2 separate regions of the Homo sapiens genome follow, and region 2 is linked to region 1. The links are contacts of gene promoters, found by promoter capture Hi-C in blood cells and fetal thymus (Javierre and others, 2016). All regions are on one chromosome and are shown on one strand. The core of a region is centred on a gene start or on the middle of the fragment in contact, and the rest is flanking DNA. Distances in the headings are between cores, read along the strand shown.

What was found. The method cuts DNA at HindIII sites, captures the fragments that hold promoters and counts their contacts. A CHiCAGO score of 5 or more calls a contact.
Region 2: a contact is called between a fragment that was not itself captured here and the fragment with the promoter of DZIP1L in region 1, in 1 of 17 cell types (M0 macrophages). The highest score is 5.2, in M0 macrophages.

What each region holds. Positions count from the first base shown.
Region 1 is chr3:138,113,295-138,117,396 of GRCh38, forward strand. It overlaps DZIP1L (DAZ interacting zinc finger protein 1 like), which reads right to left and starts at 2,314. Exons shown (of 16, transcript NM_173543.3): 1 at 2,034-2,314. RefSeq lists enhancers at 1,625-2,126, 2,127-2,626 and a silencer at 1,749-1,968. The HindIII fragment of the contact is 15,110 bases long and covers 1-4,102 here.
Region 2 is chr3:138,942,385-138,945,984 of GRCh38, forward strand. FOXL2 (forkhead box L2) reads right to left here. Exons shown (of 1, transcript NM_023067.4): 1 at 1,840-3,600. The coding sequence ends at 3,208. LINC01391 (long intergenic non-protein coding RNA 1391) reads right to left here and starts at 1,636. Exons shown (of 3, transcript NR_121649.1): 1 at 1,582-1,636; 2 at 1-234. RefSeq lists an enhancer at 2,139-2,728. The HindIII fragment of the contact is 2,195 bases long and covers 154-2,348 here.

The sequences.
Region 1 (4,102 bases), core at 1,064-3,563:
ATCTGTCAAAAATAACTCCCTCAAAATTGGCCAAACACCTTATTTTTTAACATAAACTGACAGCTAGACAACAACAACAACATCACCACTTTACTGTCTCTTCTGCTTCCTCAAGAATGCAGTCAAGAGGAGAACTTGAGGGAGCCAAGTTTCCAAGGTGGCTGCCAGGCAATCATTTACAAACCTGCCCTGGCTCCCAAGCTAACTTCAGCAGTGCCCACTGGGGGAGCTCAGGCGTGTCATTAATGCTAATTGTTGTGGCTGCCAAGGAAACCTTCACACAGTTTGCAAACAGGCTATGCACACACAGTATGCAAGGGAGCTCCAGAGACCTCAACAGAGATGACAGGGACCTGGGAGCTCTCCTGAAGTACTGCCACTGCAGAGCTTAGCCTTATTCTCAGATTCCATGGTGTTCTCCTTTTCCACTCTTCCCTGACCCTCATGGGGGCTGCAGCGACTCCTAGAACCTTCAAGCAGCGAGACAAAGGTCCCCTCAACCGGGCACAGCGCTCTCCTTACACCTGGCCTCCTATTCCCAGCAACTTTAAGGAGATATTTTTAAGTGGCCATGGTTTTATCAAAAGCCTATTAAGTTTTTGCCACAAACGGATTTTATTTAAAATAAAAATAGGGGTAGGTATTTGACTGATGTCTCTTGGGAGTGTTTTAGAGAAGAGGAATGAATACTGACATGTCCTATCTTCCCAGATGCAGAATTGTAAAACAAACAAACATAATTGCTTTTCACATGTAAAAGAAAACTGGCTTAGAACATACTAGCGTTTTCTTTGCCATGAAGGAGTTCACCTTCAGTGACTAAGCCAGAACTACTAGAGCTGCCAGGCCTAGGGACAGGAGACATTGCCAGTGCTTAGCCAGGCTGGCCAGGACTAACCATCTCTGCAAGGAGTCCACAAGAAGCCTCAGGGCAGCCTTTCCCTGCTCCTATCAATTTGAGTTGAGCAAAAAACCTTTGACCAAATATCAGCTCCATGGCACAACCCACAGTTATGGTGCCCACATGAACTCAGGTTTCTGTTCCCAACCTGAAGCATACAACTTCATGAGGTATTTTATCAAGTTAGATAGTATCAAAAAATATTCCCAGATGAGGGAGGTGTCTGACCAAGACAGTCAGAAGGCCCCTTATCAGCCACTAGACTGGAGGATCAGCCTTCCCTAAGCAGGATTGTTCTCACTGGCCAGTCCTCACATCCGGGAGGGGGAGGAGAGGTGCTAGGGGCTGCAACTGAGAAGGGAGAGATCACCCACCCTATCTGCAGATGAGGGTGTGAGAAGCCAAGTCAGAACACCCCATACTTCCCAGGCCTCTCTCCAAAGTCCTGTTAGAAATCGAATTCCAGGAGACCAGGCAGGGGCAGCCTAGGCCCTGGGCCCCTAGGAAGTGCTCCGTGAACTAGGCCCTGCCCAGGCAGCCTCGGACCCCCTCCTCTGCCCTGCCTCCTGATCCCTGTCCTGCACTGAGCAGGTCTTCGGTGGACTTTATGCGCAGCCACCTCAGGATGAAAATACCACGTCTGCCTCCTGCTGAGGTCCAGCCCAGGAAAGGAAGAAGGGGAACGAAAGATGCCAATGCGATTGCTTTTAAATCACCTCATTACTAAAAGAATCCTCCTTTACCTACGGCACTCAGATCATCAAGCCCTCCCAAATCACTTTTCTTTTTTCAAAAAGTAAAAACCCAAGGCCGTCTTCCCAGTGAAGCCGAGTCTTGGGGCATCCCGTCATTCGTCCCCCGCGCACGGGTCCTTCCCTCCCTGGGCGCCGCAGTTCGGAGCAGGCCGAGGGGGCCGGGCTGCAGGGCCGCGCCGGGCCAGAAGGGCGCGCCCTGGGCAGCGCGGACGCACGCAGCCGGCTCCTCCCGCGCCCCGCTGCACCCCGGCAGGGAGTTCGCCCCCGCTAATGTTTAACCTCCCGAATCGCTGATCCCTCGGACTGCAGCCAAGCTACCCACCCGCCCCGCTCCCGGGACGAATTCCTGGCATAGTTTTCCCGCGCGGCCCGCTCACCGTGGGGTCTCCTGGAGCCGGGGACGGCGGGAAGACGTCTCGAGGTGGCGGCTCCCATACTCGCCCCACGTCCCGCCTCCAGACTTGCTCCACCGCCCCAGACAGCCCAGAGATGGTTCCCGGAATGCTCACCGCCCGCCGTTCCCGGGATGCTTCCCCAGCCCCACGCAGTCCGGGCGCTCTCTGCGGCGGAGGCAGAGCCTGCCCGGCCCACTCCAGTGCCGCCAACCTGCGGGACCGCGGACAGAGAGCTCCTCGGTGCGTCGGTCAGCTCGTGGCTTGGGGTCTCTGGTGCCTCCAGCTCCTACTACAGCCGCCCCGCCCCACCTCAAGAAGAGGTGGAGCCTCTCCCGGCCCCTCTCGGACGAGCTATTTTTAGGTCTGTAACGGATGGGGGAAGGCGGGAATGCCACGTTTAATCCGTTAGTAAAATCCAGGATCCAAGTGAATGGCTTCCTGGCCTTGCTGAGAGGCTGGACTTGCCCCGGTTTCCCCACACCCTGCCTCCGGTACAATCGATAGCCTGCTGTGCAGGGGCGGCCGCACCCCCCGGGCAGATAGCCCTGCCCACCCTCCTAAAGGGACCGTCCTGGTTTCTTCCTGACCGGATCCCAAGCTAGGAGAGTTCTTTGGGTGTGCCCCAGGTCTGATCAGACAGACAGCAGCCACCTTCCCTCCGCAGCCCCCACCCACCACCCCCTACCCTCCCAACCTGCTGGTTTGCCCTGGGGATGCCAACTTGGAAACCCAGGACTGAAAAACTTATTTTTTCTCCTGATATTAGTCCCTGATCTCTTCCCATAGTAGTAGTTGCTTTGCTGAGATTCCGTTTTGTGGGCACCGTAACTGTGAGTTGTGCCATAGAGCTGATATTTGGTCAAAATGTTTGTTGCTCAACTCAAATTGATAGGAGCAGGGAAAGGCTGCCCTGAGGCTTCTTGTGGACTCCTTGCAGAGATGGTTAGTCCTGGCCAGCCTGGCTAAGCACTGGCAATGTCTCCTGTCCCTAGGCCCGGCAACTCTAGTAGTTCTGGCTTAGTCACTGAAGGTGAACTCCTTCATGGCAAAGAAAACGCTAGTATGTTCTAAGCCAGTTTTCTTTCACATGTGAAAAGCAGTTATGTTTGTTTTACAATTCTGCATCTGGGAAGATAGGACATGTCAGTATTCATTCCTCTTCTCTAGAGCACTCACAAGGGGCATCAGTCAAATACCTACCCCTATTTTTATTTTAAATAAAATCCTTTTGTGGCAAAAACTTAATAGGCATTTGATAAAACCATGGCCACTTAAAAATATCTCCTTAAAGTTGCTGGGAATAGGAGGCCAGGTGTAAGGAGAGCTCTGCGCCTGGTGGAGGGAACCTCTGTCTCGCTGCTTGAAGGTTCTAGGAGTCGCTGCAGCCCCCATGAGGGTCAGGGAAGAGTGGGAAAAAAGCTCCTTTTCACACACACTCTCTCTCTCTCCACTCCGCAACTCTTCTCCCTCCCTCTTTCTCTTTTTTCCATTTCAAAGGCTTTCGTCCCACCACAATCTCAATCTGCCAAGCTCTACATTTTGAGGCAGCCAAAGCAAATGTGTATGGGAACAAGCGTTGTCAAGGACTTGCAGGGAAACTGGAACTCCTGTGCATTGCTGGTGGGAATGTAAAATGGTACCATTACTGTGGATACAGAATGGTAGTTCCTCAAAAAATTAAACAAGAATTGCCAAAAGATCCAACAATTCCATTTCTGGGTATATACCCCAAAGAACTGAAAGCAGGGATTCAAACAGATATTTGTATACTCATGTTCATAATAGCATTATTCACAATAGCCAAAAAGTGGAAACAATTCAAATGTCTATCGACAGATTAATGGATAAGCAAAATGTGGTATATCCATACAATGTAATATTAACTTTAAAAGGGAAGGAAATTCTGACACATGAATGAACCTTGAAAACTGTCTTAGTCTATTCAGGCTGCTATAACAAAATACCATTGAGTGGGTAGCATATAAACAATAGAAGTTTTTTTCTTACAGTTCTGGAGGCTGGGAAGTCCAAAATCAAGACATTGGCAGATT
Region 2 (3,600 bases), core at 1-2,500, 830 kb after region 1:
TGGTGAGGCTGCTGCTCTCTTCCCAGCCTTGGGTGCCTTTTGCCTTTCAGTTCTCGGGGAGGAGACAGGCTGGTCCTTCATTGCTGGCCCCGGCCAACTTCTCCGTCTCACTGGAGGTGGGCTGCTACCTGCCCACCAGGGCTTGGTCCTGGAAGCTTCCCTCCCTTGCTTTCTCTGCTTGAGACGGCAGTTGGGGGAGTGCTGACAGCCAGCTTCAGAACAGGGAGCCTCTGCCTGATGAAGCAAAGGCTCTGTCCATATTACTTTATTTTTCAGCAAGCCAGGAATACACACCCACAAATGCACACATCACCAATGAGGTATGAATGCCACACACACTGTGGTCCCAGTAAGCACTTCCTAAGTGTTAGCCATATGATTATTACAATGCCAAAAATATATGCCCACTCTGCAGGCGAATGACAGACACACACACCTCCCACCCTGTCACCAATACACAACTGACACTGTACACACACATTTGCAGCAGATACAGACTACACAATTACTTGCCCATGGGCTAAATTTTCACGCTAGACAAAGCACAAACAGACATGCACACAGCAGGCTGCTTTCTGTTCTGCAACTCCCCTTAGCCAGATAGTGGAGCAGCCGGGCACCAAAGGCACCCAGACACCAGGCCTGACCAGCCTCTAGGGCTTCCTGCTCCAGCTGAGCCTCCCTCTCCATCCTGCTCCTGCCGGTTCCTGGTAAGCTCCAGTCCCAGTCTTGAGGTGATGCCCCCTGAGAATCCCCGTGGCTTGGTCTCCTGCCTTGTAGCCTCTCGCAGGATGCCTGTGGGGGGCGGGGGGCATTCTGAGCAGAAGCCACTTGGGCCCAACTATACATAACAGGATACCACCCTGAGGTTCCTACCGCCTGACCACTGGAGGGCTGAAGTGAGAGGCCTGCAGGCTCATTCCCGTGGCGCAAAACCGCTCCTGGCCCACCAGCCGGCCTGGACCTGCCGCCACATTGCTGGCCAGGCCCCGAGATAGACGGGGGGGGGGCAGTGAGGGCTGGGTGCGGGGTCTAGTCTCAGCTGAGCAGCAGCCCGCAAGAACCGGCGGATCTATCCTATCAGAAGTCGGAAGTCATCTATCCCATCAGAAGAGTGAAAGCCGACCACCCCCTAATCCGCCTGGGAGAACCAGACTGCAACCAGGTCAAACGCCTGTGTGCCTGCGCGGAAGCATGGATCTTAATTCGTTATTTGGGGATCTCAGTAAAGGAAGAGAGAGAAAGAAAAAAGACTAAATTTCTGCAGCCGCGAAGTATGTTCAATCCTTACTGAAACCTCCAAATCTCCTACCCATATCTCAAGGTAAATGAATTCTGACTATTAAAAATAATAAAGCAGTCACTTCTCACATTTGTACAGAGGTTAGCAGTTTGCAGCGCATTTCCACAACCAGAATTTTATCTATTAATGTTTGGAACAAACTCTTGGCTGTTATAGTTGACTCAAAATCGAAAAGTTTGAGAACAATAATAAAAACACAGCCAGCCCATACACCTAGTACAACTGTGTATGAGGTAGAATACAAACTTGAATAGGTACAAAAATAAACCAAGTCCTACCTACAGTCGCGCCTTGTGAACGAACCACGGCAGAAAAAGTCTTTCTGCTGACGTTAAACAGCCGCAACGGGCCAGTGATGACACAGAAAACAAACAATCCCAGGAAAACAAAGCAGCAGCGACAGCCACAAACGCCTGCCACCCCGGTTGCTCTCAATCTTTGTTTAACTCATTCTGAAAAAGATAAAATTTTGCTGAAAATCTTCCTCTTTTAACTAGCTGCTGAACTAAGGAGCGACAGAAATAAAGAAGTCCGTGTTAAAAGAAGGAACACAAAATTTATTCGGGAATCGACAAGGCAAAAAACAAAAACAAAACAAAAAAACACAACAAAAGTGCTCTAGTTCTCTCTAGAAAATTTGGTCCCCCAAACAACAAGCTACAGTACAACCAGGTCTATGGTTTTCGGGCCGGGCCGGCTCCGGGCCACAAGACCGCCTAGGTCGGCCGCTGCCGGGTTTCACATTTCTCCTTCCCAAGGTGGGAGAAGCAGGAGGTTTGAAAAACAAAAAGCAGGGAGGACGAGCCGTCCCAGCAGCGTGGGCCAGGCAGGCAGTGATCTCCCTGCCTCCAGGACTTGCATCGAAAGATCCGGGGACATTTGTTTTTGATTTTTTTCTTCAGATAGGGAGAGGGTGAAACTTCCCCAATTGGTAGACGAAACCATCTTTTATTGGATATATTCTCCTAACTCTGAACACAGCTTTTTGAAGGCCCAACAAAAACTCTAACGCAAATCTTCCAGAAGAGAAGATGAGGAATACTAAAGCTTTTGATTTTCATATTTGGATTTAGCAAACTCCAAGGCCACAATACTTCCCCGGTTGCCCGGTGAATTTTTTTTCCTTTTTTTTTTTTTAAATACTCTCTTAAAAAGTTCCACCGATCTTTCAAACAAAACATTAGCCAGCCGCCGGGGCCCGGAGGTGCCCGAAGCGACGGGACTGATAGCGGAGGAAACGCAGCCTCCCTCCGCGCCCGCCCGCGGTGTAAACCGAGTACAGGCCGTGGAGCCAGGCTGCCCCGGCTCCCGCTGGGTCCCAACCCCCGCCCCGCCTAGTGGGCCCCGCGGCAAGCGGCTTCTGAACAGCTTCAAGAGGGTTCGCGGAGCAAACACACGTATTGGTCCGTCCCTTTCTCGGGCAGCGCGGTCCCGCCATCAGTCCTGTCCGGCGCGTCTAGCCATGGACTGCACGGCAGTCGGGCGGGGAACGCGGAGAGCGAGCGCACCGACCTGTGAGAGAAGGCCAAGAGGTCTGCGCTGCCGACGCCCGGTCGCACCTCCGCCCCGGGCCCTTTCCGCGGTGAATTTGGGCAGGAGACGCTGGGGCTCCGGAAAGAGACGAGCCCAGTAGAAAGCGCGCAGAGAGGCAGCTTCAGGCCAGGGGAGTGCAAGGTCACAGAGGTCAGGGAGGTGAGCACAGGAGGACATAAACTGAGGGGACAAAGAGGAGCGACAGGAGCTTAGGAAAGCGAAAAAGCACAGAGGGACCCTGGGCGCTGGCTCCAGAGGCGGGCCCAGAGGGTGTGAGGTCAGGCTGGCGGCGGCGTCGTCGGCTGCGACCGGGGCCGGCGTCGCGCGTCCCTGCATCCTCGCATCCGTCTGCACCGGCATGCGGTGGGCTCTCAGAGATCGAGGCGCGAATGCAGCGCGCCGGTCTTGCTGTCGTGGTCCCAGTAAGAGCAATGCATCATGGCGAGCTCGGGCTGCCGGGCACAAGCGAACTGCAGGCCCGGCGCACTGGTGGGCGCGGGCGCCGGGGGCGCGGCGGTGGCTGGGCTGGCAGGGCTGAGCTGGCCCGGCGGCGGCGCGGCGGCCCCGTGGTGCGGTGGGGCAGGCGGCGGTGCGGCGGCCGCGTGCAGATGGTGTGCGTGCGGATGCGGGTGGGGGTGCGGCGGAGGCGGGGGTGCGGCCGGCGGGCCTCCCAGGCCATTGTACGAGTTCACTACGCCGGGGGGCAGCGCCATGCTCTGCACGCGTGTGTACGGCCCGTACGAGGCGGCCGGGCCCGCCAGCCC